Regions from separate parts of the Homo sapiens genome. Here region 2 is linked to region 1. The links are contacts of gene promoters, found by promoter capture Hi-C in human tissues and cell types (Jung and others, 2019). All regions are on one chromosome and are shown on one strand. The core of a region is centred on a gene start or on the middle of the fragment in contact, and the rest is flanking DNA. Distances in the headings are between cores, read along the strand shown. Region 1 holds the start of SMIM21 (small integral membrane protein 21). Region 2 has its middle 67 kb from the start of SMIM21.

What was found. Contacts are between HindIII fragments. The study calls those that stand out against the background at their distance.
Region 2: a contact is called between a fragment that was not itself captured here and the fragment with the promoter of SMIM21 in region 1, in 4 of the 25 tissues and cell types used here (H1 embryonic stem cells, adrenal gland, bladder and 1 more).

Annotation. Positions count from the first base shown.
Region 1 is chr18:75,424,363-75,429,061 of GRCh38, reverse strand. SMIM21 (small integral membrane protein 21) reads left to right here and starts at 1,359. Exons shown (of 3, transcript NM_001037331.3): 1 at 1,359-1,627. The coding sequence starts at 1,499. LOC105372200 (a long non-coding RNA gene) reads right to left here. Exons shown (of 4, transcript XR_935636.3): 4 at 2,401-4,245. The HindIII fragment of the contact is 8,486 bases long and covers 1-4,699 here.
Region 2 is chr18:75,358,694-75,363,141 of GRCh38, reverse strand. No RefSeq gene overlaps it. Among named protein-coding and RNA genes, the nearest start is that of SMIM21, 67 kb to the left of the region's middle. RefSeq lists enhancers at 1,946-2,486, 2,487-3,028. The HindIII fragment of the contact is 7,469 bases long and covers 1-4,448 here.

The DNA of each region.
Region 1 (4,699 bases), core at 110-2,609:
TGTCATAGACCAAGCTGTCCCTCCTAGATGAGGTCTCTTTCCACCCCCTACACCCCACTGTCTTTTAGCAGCTGGAAGTTTAAGGCCTGTGGGAAATTGAAGATTAATTTTTAGTCAGTGTTTTTTTTTTCTCTTTTCTTTAAATCACCAACTCTGAGAATTCTAGATGTTACTCTGCATATGTGTGCTCCACAACTATCAACTTTCACAATTTGGGATCTGCTACAAAACGGGCTTCCGAGCTCCCTTCCTGTCCCTCCACACAGGTCTCAAGCCTCCTCTGTCTCTGCTCCCTCTGCACGTTTCTGCCTTTCCCTTGTCCATGGCCTTGGTGGGACCCACCATTTTTTGCTCTTCTTTCTAGAGAATGAGTCTTGTCTCCAACTAGATGGGAAAAACCACTCAGGACAAGACCATCAGAACAGCACTGGGCTACTGATTTGTATGCTGTGCATATGGTCACTGTTCACATAATAACAGGTATTTTCTTAGTCATACTGTGCGTCAAGCACAGTGCATACTGTCCTGGGCATTTTTACTCAACACCAACACTGTGGAGCACCCATCATGAGCTTCTGTAGGCTGGGACTCACAACTATGTGCATCTCTCTTCATCAGGCACCTTGTCAAAAGCCATCCACACTATGGGGATAACGCTGCAAGTATTTGGTGAACGTGTGTGTGTTAAGTACCACTTAATTTTCCGCTCATTGGGCACCATTTACAAACAGTGGAAGATCTGTGAAAATTCCCATGAGGCAGCACAGCAGCATCCAGAGGCCACCACACACGTCTCATGGCTACTCTCCACCCTGCGATGATGGTCTGCACAGCGCTTCTTCCTGGGGTAGCTCCCAAGTAACCTCCATTCAGCTTTCCTCCTGCTGTTCCATGGTGCTTGTCTTCCAGCAGAATCTCTCTCACTTTAACAATTAAATGGACAACCCAGGAAACCTACACTTGGAATTCAGCGAAAGAAATGTTAGTCTCCTGTGGAGTGTCTCATTAGGTTAAAAGAAAGTTACTGAAAAGTCTGATGGGAAAATGAATTTCTACATTTTGCTTAGGGCCCAAAAAGAATCCCAGATTTTATTTCCATTGAAGTGCATATAGTAGTATTTATTTTGATTCAGGGAGATGCGGTTCATTTTTAATATTCACAAAAGCTTCTTGACATCAGATCCAAAGCTTGTGCTGTGGAGATATGGTTGAACATTCTCACACAGCATCACTGAGCCAGAGAGCAACCTGAGAAACCTCAGAACTCCATGTGCGGGAAGATTCCATCCGACTTCATAAAATAATACCTGGACCTGAGAACTCTACATGTGGGAAGATTCCATCCAGCTTCATAAAATAATACCCAGATCTTCAAGGTTGGCAAAGAAGAGAAAAGCTCCTTGGGAACTTAGTTACCAGGTCTTATAGCACCAGCTCTGTGTCCTCAGAGTCGCTGTCATCAAGGAGACCTCTCACTGGTCACCGCCGCAGCCCCCACATGGACCAGTATGTGTCCACAGCTCCTCCCCGATTCCCTATAGCACAGCTGGGAACATTTAAACAAGACTCTGCAGGAATGGGACGGATATTCAAGGGGAATTTGCTGCAGAAGAAAGCACTTACCACAGTGAGTTTATGGGTCTTTAACTTTGGGTTATGAGAGAGACGTATCACTGCACAGGTATGGTCCTACAAAGCACTCTTTTGCCCCAATCTCCTGTGAGTGCTCTGTCTCTCAAATCCAGATTCTACGAAGTTTAAGATGAGACGTCAATCCAGAGCTCTTTCTTTCTCAGTTCTGGCCAAGACAACCTCCCAATTCCAATTCCCAATCTGAGGAAGAGCTGCCCCTTTCAGAAAAGGTACTGGGCCCTCCCCTTGACATTACATCAGTATACAGGCCAATGAGTCAATGATCTCTCCCCTACAGAGAGAGCCTCTTAACACAGATGCAAGGATACCTCCAAATGCTTTAAGCCTAGGTGCACCTGCAACACCTACAAACTCAACCTACCCAGACAAATTTGATACTGCACTCCTAGAAGAAAGTTTCTTTTCCTTCATTACAGGACAGAAGCAAAAGTTGCAACAAATTTAACCATTCATGAACCAGTAGCCAATGTGCAGGCAACAGATGGCATTTATAGACACCCCATTTGCAGAGGTGATGGGGTGATCAATAGCTTCTGAAAAGGAAGTTTATGACCCAGTCATATATCGGAAAGGTTAAAGTCCTAAGACAAAATTTCTGGAATGTCTTCTCCTGTAGCACAGGGTTCCTCTTAGTGTTTCTGACTGTGAAGAGGAGATGGATGGGAGCAGGCAGGTAGCATCTCCTTCCTCTGTCTTGATCCCCACTGCTGCTTCTTTATTTCCTTTTCCTTTTTCCATTTTTTTTTTTTTTTTTTTTTTTTTTTTTTTTTTTTTTTTACATTTTAAAAGTAATGGTCTAGGGCCGGGTGCAGTGGCTCATGCCTGTAATCTCAGCACTTTGGGAGGCCGAGGCGAGGAGATCACAAGGTCAGGAGATTGATACTATCCTGGCTAACACAGTGAAACCCCATCTCTACTAGAAATACAAAAAATTAGCCAGTCGTGGTGGCGGGCACTTGTAGTCCCAGCTACTTGGGAGGCTGAGGCAGGAGAATGGTGTGAACCCGGGAGGCAGAGCTTGCAGTGAGCCGAGATTGTGCCACTGCACTCCAGGCTGGGTGACAGAGCGAGACTCTGTCCCTCAAAAAACAAACAAACAAACAAACAAACAAACAAATAAATAAATAAAAGTAATGGTCTTAAAGTTCTTCAGTCTTAAACAAATTATAGAAGGCTTTAAAAGCTGGTTTTGTGCATTTCATATGTGATAGTTGTAAGTCGATTTGAAGTCCTTCTAATACTTTATAAATTTCATCAATCAACATCCAGGTAGGTAGAATCTTAGGTACATGATGATGGTTATGAATTAATACTAGGCCGGTGTGTGCTGGGTTTGTCTCCAGGCCTTGCGTGAGGGCTGTGATGGGGTGCATGACTCAGGAGGCACTCGGTGGGCAATCAAAAGAGGCAATGGTAACACAGCACCTCAAACATTTCAGGGCAGCTGGTCTGCACCAGGTACACAGTAGGCATGAGGAGTGCAAAGATGGGAGAGGCAGGGGCCCCCACCTCAGGGAGCACACAGATACAGAGACTGTCCCTGTCCCCTCCATCTTCAACTCTTGATTTCTTCCATCTTTCTTAGGTTGGAGGTTAACTTGCTGCTGAAGAGATTTCAGCAGGATGGGAACTTACATATAATCTGAATAATCAAATGTAAAAGAGTTCATCTTCTGGGTCCCACTTCTGCTATTTTCATCCACTGCTTCCTACCCATGTGCTAAGCATTTTCATGCAGCCTCGTCTGTCTTTTCAATAAGAAAGCCAGTTGATAACTGATTCACACTTAGGTGGGCTGTTAAACCACAAAATGTTGACAAGGAAAACAACACTTAATAATAAATCATATGATGGTAACGTTTCTGTAGCCAGTAGGAAAATGGTTTCAGGTGTGAACAATTCTCACTACTTCATGGATCATACGACATAGATACTGTTCATTAATGACTCTAAAGCCAATACAGGGCATGAAACTATAAGGAATTCCTTCCTGCTATTGTCCAGGCAGTGGAATGGGACTTTTTTTTTCTTTTGGCCAGTGTTCACTGGTTCCACTATGTTTCTGATCAGATCTTCACATTTAATTTCTTCTTAGGTATTCATGCATCTAGGAGTTCTTATGTACTGGAAACTCAGTATCTCCTGTTTGCAGGCAGTGACTGGGTGTTCATTAAATCCAGATATCTCTGGATGGAGGCTGTGGATAAGCTTGGTGTCCAGTGGAATCTCTCTCATGCACAGACGACGAAAATCCAAAAGCTCACATTGGTTCCAGTACAACAGACAGCCTGTTCCACTGGAGTTGTGTCAGCTGAGGTGTGCACATTTGTATCATCTGTCACAACTATTTACCCCTCTCTTTTCTCAGTAACAGCAGATACACTCGCCCATCGCCATGAGACTTGAGGGAGCTGATCCACTACCAGGCTTGGCCTGTGGCTTGCTTTGCCCACAACAGCGTGAGGAGTGTGATGTGCAGCACATCTGAGCAGAAGCTTTAAAAGCAATTGTGTGCTTTGGTTCTTCCCCTTGTACTTCTCATCTTCCATGAAAAGGGCCTGTTCTCCCAGATCTCTGCTCCTTAGCCTGAGTCTGGGAATGAGAAGACACACAGTGTCACATTAGTGAGACATTTTAAATAAGAAAGAAGTGTTCATTGTTACAAACTGCTGAGATTGGGGAGGCAGGGGTGTTGTCACTATGAGACATCTACTACAATGTGATATGGGCTCTAGGACAAGGGACATGCACTTCATCCCTTGTCACAATGATTTTAAAAATCCATTACTATGCACAGGACTTGGAGTGATACAGGCATCAGGCAGACAGGATAGCAAGTGCACTGGGATGCTTCCAAAGTTTTCAGGGATTTCAACAGTCCTATCAATTGAAGGAAGAGTGATCCTCCACCCCATGCAAGGACATTATTAGTGTGAAACTCCCAAGTGCTGTATCCTAAACATACCCCCTTAATAATGGAAAGAAATCCTCCCTCCTCTGAGTTAATTACATAAACTATATATTATTCATCAGATTTCTATATAAT
Region 2 (4,448 bases), core at 1,221-3,720, 67 kb after region 1:
AGGAGTGTGAATGTCACATGGATCAGAAATTGCCAAGTCTTTGAAGTGAAATTAAAAAATGGTGTTATTATAGATCTTTCTTGACATCCTATCACTTTTGTATAGGATTAAATATATGTATACAAAGCACCAGATAAAGGACTCCGGCAAAGGATGTCTTGGTTGAAGGGACAGGAAGTAAAGGCATCCTGGTCATGAATTTTTACTTCAAAACCCCAAAGCATTTCTTTCCTTTGCTTTTCTTTTCTTTTAAAGAGTTCTTAGTAAAAAGATGCCATTGGTTTTTAAATAGAGGGTAAACCATCCCTTACTTTTGTTACCTGGGGTCCAGCTGTTGGAATTTCTTCTCTCCTTTTTCCCCAAGCATTCTACCTCTCTTGGGTATTGTGTTTATAGCATATGTTTCTATGTGGACAGTCATACTGAGCACTTACGGCTGTAAATAAACCTGGGTATATTTACATGCTGGGGTTTGCAGGGCCTCACGTGGCCCGTGGTGCATCGGTCATGGAGGCTCCCAGCTGCCGTGCTGCTCGGCACCCAGCAGCTCCTCCAGCAGCCCAAGCCACGGTGTTCTCACAGGTGGCAAAGCGGCTCGTGAATTCCCAGGACTATTCCTCACGGTTCACTCCGGAGCAGCAGCAAGTGGACTGTCACGCTGCTCTTTGTCTTCCCTCTCTGGTGTTGCTTTTCCGGGCTTTCCCCCATCTTGAATTTTCCCCTGTTCCTATTTTGTTGTGTCTGTGGGATGTGGGTGTTGGAAGTGGGTTTTTTCAGAAGGACTGTTTTTTCTCCTTTCTAGGAATGTGTGGCTCCTTACAGGAGCTGGTGTTCTGTGATTCCGAGATATTCTTGTTTTACCCATTTTGAACCACTCTATAGAGTTCCTGGTGGCTGGAACTTACTTCATCCTGGCTGATGGATTCTGTTTTCTGGGATGGGAGCTGCACACGCAGACACACAGAGCAGAGGGAGGGCTTGGGCGGTTTCCTCTTTGGTGCAAGTGTGCATTTCCTCTGTATTCATGGGTTCCACCAACCCGTGTGCAGGGTGCAGGGGAAGTGAGCGTTTGCTGACTTCGTGGAGGGGTCACTACCTGAGTGAGGCTTTCTGACCCCCCACTTCCCTGCAACACACACACACACTCACATGCAGACACACTCAGACACTCATCACCTCACACACACACCTTTACATACATGCACACTCACACTCACTTACCAGACACACTCAGACACTCATCACCTCACACACACCCTCACATACATGCACACTCACACTCACTTACCAGACACACTTAGCCACTCATACACACACCACCTTGCCCATACACAAACACATATAACCATACACTCACACTCATGCAAACACAGCCACTCACACGCACTCATTACTTCACATATGCAAATTCACACACTCACATTCACACTCAAGCCACACTCACCCACACTCAGCCATTCACACACACTCACACTCCCTCACACTCAGCCATTCACACACTCACACTCAGCCACTCATGAACCCTCACACTCGCTCGTGAGAGTCTGAGTGACTCTCTCACACACACTCACACATATGCACACACACTCATGCAGACATAGACACACACACATCACCACACACACAAACACACACGTCCTCACACACACACAAAATCATACAAACTCACACACACTTAACCACTCACACACACTCATCACCTCACACACAACCACTCACGCACCCTCACACTCACTCGGAGAGTCCCTTATGAGTGAGTGACTCACGTGCACGCACACCCACGCTTACTGGTGGTCACTGCTCTCCCACACTCAGGACACCATCAGGAAGAGGGTTGTCACCAGTGCTTTGGTCCCAGTCTCTCTGTGTTCATCTGTTTATTCTGCTTATGCCTGGAGGACATGAAGACAGAGCGTGGCCGTGGAATGCCCCCCCGACATGGCCTCCCATGAAGACACCTCAGCCCCACGTTCCCTCTGCACCACCTGGACGGGGACCCACTGCGGCAAGACCACACAGGCAGTCCCCTCACGGCCAGCTGGTCCTGCGGCCATGGACACGTGTTTGTCTCCATGCCCAGTATCTCCTGGAAGACAGCATTCCAGACACCCGAGAACCTGGCCAGGACACCCTCTAGTCTCAGACAAACGCAAGAAATCACTCAGCTAATGCTACCCCCACCTTGGAGAACAGAAGGAGTCCTGCCGGGAGATGGGGCCCTCCAATGTAGACTAATTGTCCTCATCACCCAAGTTCTGGGCTGGTGCTGCTAGACTCCCTCTCTGTCCCCCACCTCTCCCACCTCTCAGCTCCTCCACCTGCTCACCTCCTCCACCCCAGCCACCGCCTGAAGCCAGCAGAAAGGTCTGAGCAGCTTCTCCCTCCAATCCTCCAGAAGGAGCCCACCCTGCCAACACCATGATCTGGGACATCTGACCCCCAGAGCTGTCAGACAATGAATTCCTGTGCTACGACGCCAGGTGTGTGGCGCTTTGTGAACAGAGCCCTCACCTGTAGAACTCAGCGTAGCACAGGGAGGTGGTCCTGGACCATGCTGGTGGGCCTGATGCAATTGCATGTGTCATCACAAGAAGGAGGCAGAAGGGGCTTTGCCCGCAGGAGACAGAGCCAAGCAATGGAAGCAGAGAGAAGCCGACTCACAGAGAGGCTGTGCTGCTGGCTTGGACAACGGGGGCAGTGACCGTGACCCACAGAACACAAGGAATGCAGCTCTTGGTGTTGGAAAGGAAAGGAATCGAATTCCTTCCTGGACCACCCAGAGGGAATCCGGTCCTGTCAGCCCTCGATTTCGACTCACTGATGCTGAGTTCAGACTAGTGGCTTCTAGAAATAGGAGAGAATACATTTCAATTGTTTTCAACCTTCAAGTTTGTGATCATTTGTTACAACAGCCACAAGAAACTAATGCGGCCACCATAGACTGGGTGTTTTTCCACGTATTTGGAACCAAACTAAGCATTTCATAGATGTTATTACATGTAGCCCTTGGGAGTAAATTATATTGTCCTCATTTTACAGAAGAGTAAACTGAGGACAGGTGAAAAAATATTCCCCGCCCAAGGTCATGCCAGCAAGTGTGGAGCTTGGATTTGGACTCAGAGCTATCTAAGGAGGACCTCCAAGCTCTCAGCCTTCCTCACTGTGACAAATCCCCTCTGTGTAGCTCCCAATGCACTCTTCACATCCTCCTCTGCTTCCTCTCCACCTGCCTCCAGATGCTGCCTCCAGCTCGTGTCACCTGCTGTTCCCCAGCTCAAAAGCTCCCAGAAGCTCCTCAGTTGCCACAGACCCCTCAGCCTGGCTTCCATGGCACCTAACAGCCTGAGCCACCCTAACCTTCCAACCTTGTCTCCCACAGTTTCCTTGGGGAGGTCTCTGTTTCCAGCGTGTTGTCTCACTTCCACTCCCCTCCCAGTCTTCAAGCCTTCAGAGGTGCACTCCCTTACTAGGACATCTTCTTACTTCCCTTCCACTTCTTAAGACAAATCTGATTCTAAGTTTTTCCAATTATTTGAGTGCGTACAAATATCTCCTTCCTCTGAATCCCCATTCTACTCAACACTTGGTTTAGTATACAATGATTCTTTATTGATTTTGTATGTGTTAGTTTTCTCTTCCCTAGCTGTACTGTAAATTTCTTCAGGATGCTAAAGAACACTAAAAAAGTCCCTATCCTCATAAAGCTTATAGTTCAGCTGCAGAGACAAAACTTCTTAACCTCAGAACAATCAACATCAAAGGATTTGATTTAATGAGGAAGCAGCAAGCTTCCACATGCCATATTGAGAACACAGGACAGGATGTCAAAAAAATTTGGTTCCAGCCCTGGTTTTGTGCCCTCAGGGAAGCCCCTCCAGCTCGCCAGCTCTCTTCCTCTTTATCTATAAAATCAGACACTTGAGCTACATACCCCCTAATGTCTCTCCACTCTAGCGTCCTATGAGCCAGAGCCGGCATTGGAATGTGCTCCTGATCCCAAGACACCTTTCCCCCTCGCCCAAGAATTCCGCCAGCGACTGAGTCACATTTCCTATGAGGGCCATGCTGTAGCTATTCATCATCCTAAAAGCCTGGGTCCTGTGTGATTCACATCCAGCGAAGGCCACCTTGCCACTGAAGTCTTCATTGGCATTGAAACCTTGAAAGCTGCCCCTGACTTCTGCTACCTTGGCAGGACAGAGTCAAACAGTGCCCTCTTATCCAAGGAGCTGGAAAATGGGAAACAAAGCCAGTGGACATGAGGCCAGACTCAGAGTCTGGCACAGGCATAAGAGGAAGTTCAAAGCCAAGAGAAAAGCCCATGACACTGTGGCTCTCCCACCAACCATCCACTCATGAACTCTAGATGTCACAGTTCGCTTCTGGAAAACTGTATGTGCAGAAGCTTAATACCAAATGAAGGTCATGAATCATGCGTTCCTGGAATG